Linked DNA regions of Homo sapiens: region 1 is linked to region 2. Evidence: promoter capture Hi-C in human tissues and cell types (Jung and others, 2019). All regions are on one chromosome and are shown on one strand. The core of a region is centred on a gene start or on the middle of the fragment in contact, and the rest is flanking DNA. Distances in the headings are between cores, read along the strand shown. Region 1 has its middle 36 kb from the start of SLC5A4. Region 2 holds the start of SLC5A4 (solute carrier family 5 member 4).

The links. The method cuts DNA at HindIII sites, captures the fragments that hold promoters and counts their contacts. A contact is called where the count stands out against the background at its distance.
Region 1: a contact is called between a fragment that was not itself captured here and the fragment with the promoter of SLC5A4 in region 2, in 2 of the 25 tissues and cell types used here (IMR-90 fibroblasts and lymphoblastoid cells).

Annotation. Positions count from the first base shown.
Region 1 is chr22:32,289,871-32,292,570 of GRCh38, forward strand. It overlaps a transcript of SLC5A4 not described here. Among named protein-coding and RNA genes, the nearest start is that of SLC5A4, 36 kb to the left of the region's middle. The HindIII fragment of the contact is 6,132 bases long and covers 1-2,700 here.
Region 2 is chr22:32,254,037-32,256,736 of GRCh38, forward strand. It overlaps SLC5A4 (solute carrier family 5 member 4), which reads right to left and starts at 1,311. Exons shown (of 15, transcript NM_014227.3): 1 at 1,159-1,311; 2 at 106-177. The coding sequence starts at 1,293. The region is part of intron 2 of SLC5A4-AS1 (SLC5A4 antisense RNA 1); the gene reads left to right. The HindIII fragment of the contact is 10,747 bases long and covers 1-2,700 here.

The sequences.
Region 1 (2,700 bases), core at 154-2,653, 36 kb after region 2:
CTTACTTTGTCAGGTTTTAGTATCAGGGTAATTCTAGTCTCAAAAATGAATTGAGGCCATTTTATGCTCTTTAATATTCATTTTCTATTGCTTTTCTATTCTCTGGAAGAGCTTGTGTATGATTGGCGTGGTTTCTAGAAGAGCTTATGATTGGCATGATCTCTTCCTTAAATGTTTGGTTGAATTTGTAGGGCCTGGGTTTTTCTTTTTTTCTTTTTACTTTTATTTTACTTTAAGTTCTGGGATGCATGTACAGAATGTGCAGGTTTGTGACATAAGTACACATGTGCCGTGGTGGTTTGCTGCACCTATCAACCCGTCATCTAGGTTTTAAGCCCTGCATGCATTAGGTGTTTGTCCTAATGCTCTCCCTCCCCTTGCCCCCATCCCCTGACAGGCCCCGGTGTGTGATGTTCCCCTCCCTGTGTCCATGTGTTCTCACTGTTCAACTCCCATTTATGAGGACATGTGGTGTTTTCTCTTCCTGTGTTAGTTTGTTTGCTGAGAACGATGGTTTCCAGCTTCATCCTTGTCCCTGGGGTTTTCTTAGTGGGAAAGATTTGGTTATGGATTCAATTGATTTTATTACTACAGGACTCTTTAAATTTCTATTTTTCTAATATCAGCTTTGAAAACTTGTACTTTTTATTTTATATTTTCAAATGCTTTGGATATGATTTTTTCATAACAATTTCCTTTTTAGTCCTTTTGGGTTGCTGTGACAAAATACCTCAGACTCGGTAACTTACAAACAATAGAAATTTATTTCTCACAGTTCTGAATACTGGGAAGTCCAAGATCAGGGAACTGGCAGATGTGGGGTGTGCAGAAGACTCGCTCTCTGCCTCCAAGATCGCAGCTTGTTGCTGTGTCCTCTGAGGATGAATGCTGTGTCTTCACATGATAGAAGAGATGGAAAGGCAAAAAGGCCCAGAAAGTCCCCTCCAGCCCTTTTATAATGTCACTAATCCCATTCATGAGGGTTCCATCCTCAGGACTTAATCGCTTCCTAAGGGCCCCAACTCTTAATACTATCACATTGGGTCTTAGGTTTCAAAATATTAATTTTGGGGGAAAACATACATTTGAACCATTTCAGCCTCTTTTTTATGCTTGCTGGATGTGTAGTGGTGTCTTCTTTTTAATTTCTGATATTGGAATTTGTCTTCTTTCATTTTCATCATATGAGTTTTGCCAGGGATTTATCAATTTTATTTTTTTAAAGAGCTAGCATTTGGCTTTGCTGATCCTCTCTGTGTTATGTTTATTTTCTTTTTCTTTAGTTGTGTATTTATCTTCATTGTTCTCTTTTTATATACTTTGTGTTTGACTGTTCTTTTTTTTTTTTTTTGAGATGGAGTCTTTCTCTGTTACCCAGGCTGCCACCCTCCGCCTCCCGGGTTCAAGCGATTCTCTTGCCTCAGCCTCCCGAGTAGCTGGGATTACAGGCGTGCGCCACCATGCCTGGCCAATTTTTTGTATTTTTATAGTAGAGACGGGGTTTCACCGTATTGGTCAGGCTGGTCTTGAACTCCTGACCTCGTGATCCACCCACCTTGGCCTCCCAAAGTGCTGGGATTACAGGCGTGAGGCACTGCGCCGGGGTCAACTGTTCTATTTTTAATTTGTGAGAAGTATGGCTGACATTAGTTTTCAGTCAAACTTGTGTATCAACTTGGGGAAAATTGACACATTTACTGTGTTGTCTTCCAACTCATGAACATGGTACGTCTCTTCATTAATTTAGATGTTCTTTGATTTCTTTACCAAGATAGGCTCTTAAGCTTGAATTTTCTTTTAAGCACTTATTTATCTGAATCACCTAAGTTTTAATATGTAACAATTCCCTTATACTCAAATGTATTCTACTTTTCATTATGATTTATTCCTTGACCTTAGCCTATTTATATTTCTTGTTTTCCCAATGTATGGAAATTTTTATATTTTATATATATGTGTGTGTGTATATATATGTATGTATATATATAATTTATTTTTCTTTTCTATCTTTTTTTTTTTGGAGATGGAGTCTCATTCTGTCACTCAGGCTGGAGTGCAATGGCACAATCTTGGCTCACTGCAACCTTTGCCTCCCGGGTTCAAGTGATTCTCGTGCCTCAGTCTCCTGAGAAGCTGAGATTACAGGTGTGCACCACTACGCCCGGCTATTTTTTTATATTTTTAGTAGAGACGGGGTTTTAGTATATATATATAACATATATACTAGATATTATATATAATATATAATACATATACTAGATATTATATATTATATTCTATATATTATATATATAATATATACTAGATATTATATATAATACATACTAGATATTATATAATATATATATTATATTCTATATATTATATATATAATATATACTAGATATTATATATAATACATACTAGATATTATATATAATATATACTAGATATTATATATATTTTTCTAATATATATGGTATATGGAACTATAGGAATTTTCTAATCTGTACACACATATTTTCTAATATGTACATACTAGATATATATTTGTTTTTTTCTAGTGTATGTGTGTGTGTGTATATGCTAGAAAATCCCCATATGTTTGGAAAACAGCATTCATCCCCAGAGAACACAGCAACAGGGTGCTATCTTAGAGGCAGAGAGTGAGTCTTCCCCAGACCCCACATCTGCCAGTGCCTTGATCTTGGACTTCCCAGA
Region 2 (2,700 bases), core at 61-2,560:
TCCCAAAGTGCTGGGATTACAGGCGTGAGACACCGCACCCAGCCTACATTCAGTTTTAAGCACACACACAGGAAATTTATCTCCAGAAAACTTCGATCCACTTACCGGCCACCAGGCCATATCACGACCAGCGAGGAAGAAGCCTCCTATAGTACCTCGGTTGGTCTTCAGCATCGCCTGAGCAGAAGGGAAGACAGGTGAGGGTCAAGCCCCAGCAAGTGCACCCAGACACCCCAGAGGCTCTGGCCAGGGTGCTGAGAGGGGTGACTTCAGCACTCCTACAGAGAGAAACATTTCGCTGGAAAGTGTTCTATAGCATCAAATTTTAAAGGACTTCAAAAACAGTCGCTTTGTAAAAACCCAGGGCTGGAAGAACTTAAAAAAATCATAATCCTTAACTTCTATCTTAACTGCTCTGATTATTCTCACTTATGAAAACCATGTGAGGTATCATTGAGCCATGCTTGCAATAAAATTTGCAGTCTCGGCCGGGCACGGTGGCTCACGCCTGTAATTCCAGCACTTTGGAGGGCCGAGGCGGGTGGATCACAAGGTCAAGAGATCGAGACCATCCTGGCCAACATGGTGAAACCCCGTCTCTACTAAAAATACAAAAAGTTAGCCGGGCGTGGTGGCGCATGCCTGTAGTCCCAGCTACTTGGGAGGCTGAGGCAGGAGAATGGCGTGAACCCAGGAGGCGGAGCTTGCAGTGAGCCAAGCAAGCGCCACTGCACTCCAGCCTGGACGACAGAGCAAGACTCCGTCTCAAAAAAAAAAAAAATTTGCAGTCTCAAATTTATTAAAATAAAAAAATTCAACATAAATGAAGAGTCCAACTCACTAAATCAGAAAGTGAGCAAACAACAAAAGAAAGCGAAAGAAATGCGATAATAAAAATACACTCTTTGTCCATTATGCCAGGTGTTGGGGATGCATAGTAAATCTGAAGGTCCCGGTGCTGGCTGTGTGCACACGATGGGGTTATTAGGAGAATACATTAGTTCATTGTAAGCGTTATTTATGCAACACACAAGAAAATGATTCTGATAACACAATGACATTTGTGAAAAGCTTTGTCACAACCACACCCCTTCCCCCCTTAAGATACCCCCTCCTAAACCTTGTGCCCACCCTAAAAGCCACTGGGATTCCACCTACCCACAGCCCAACAGCCATCACCACCAGAAAATAGATGACAATGACTGAGATGTCAGCAGCATTTCGGATGTGGTCAGACAATGGAGGTGGCTCTGGGGTCTCAGCTATGGTGCTGGGGCTAACCGTACTGGCCATGGCTGCAGGCAGTGCTATACCCATTCCACGCATGAGCCATCTTTATATAAGTTCTGGGTTAATGATCAGCCTCAGGCAGGTGGGGCGAGATATCAGAGCCAGCTCCTGGATATGGAGACCTTTAAACCTCTTCTCCAAAGCTGTGGCACCCCAGCCCTCCACCAGTGAGTGCTAGCCTAGGTAGAGTGTGAGAATGAGGGATGCAGGGCCAGAAATGAGGGGAGAATTTGAGGTGGAGCATGGGGCGTTCTCTGAGTGCAAAGACAGGGTCTTTAAAGAGATTTGCCCAGGTGGAGGGGGGATTTGAGAGAAATGAAGACAGACAAGGAGGGGAGAAGGACAGACTAGAAGGTACCAGAAACCAGCCAGGAGGGACCGAATGCAATGGTCCTTCAGAGAACAGATACAGTTTCTGACCAATGAGCTATATCCCTTGACAGTGAAGTGAATTATGCCTTTCGTGGATTCCAAAGTCCCACATTTCTCTGAAGTGGGTTTCATGTGCCACAAAAAGACATTGGTGGCCTGTATAGGAAAGGAAGTGGCTCTTCAAGCACCATATGTGGTGAGTTGAGGGCAGAGCTGTGGAGAGCGCTGGGTCAGAGGGTTGTACAAAGAGTGAATCAACCTGGAAGCATGTGATGGGGATCATGAGGACTCAGGAAACAAGACTCCTGGACTACAGCCAAGAAGAAGTTAGAAGTAAAGCCTATGCGGTGGCTGACACCTGTAATCCCAGCACTTTGGGAGGCCAAGGAGAGAGCATCACTTGAGGCCAGGAGTTCAAGACCAGCTTGGGCAACATAGGGAGTCTTTGTCTCTATAAAAATTAGCTGAGTGTGGTGATGCACACGTATGGTCCCAGCTACTTGGGAGGCTGAAGAGGGAGGATCACCTGTGACTGGGAGGTCAAAGCTATAGTGAGCCATGATCACGCCGCTGCACTCTAGCCTGGGCAACTGAGCAAGATCCTGTCTCAAAAACAAACAAAAAAAACAACAACAAAAAAACAAAACCAAAAACACACATGAAAAAACGGAAAGCCCAGAAATTCTTCTTTTATACTTCATTTTTTATTGTGGCAAAGCATACATAGCATAAAATTTACCATTTTAATCCCTTTTAAGTGTACAATTCATTGGCATTAAGTACATTTACAGTGTTATGCAGCCATTACCACTATCCATTTCCAGAACTTTTTCATCATCTCCAAACAGAAGTATGTACCCACTAAAAACTAACTCCCCATCCCTCCCTCTCTCCAGGCCCTGGTAACCTCTGTTATTCTTTCTTACTATATAAATTTGCCTATTCTAGGTACCTCATACAAATGAAATCATACAATATTTTCCTCTTTGGTTTATTTCACTTAGTATGACATTTTCAAGGTTCATCCATATTGTAGCA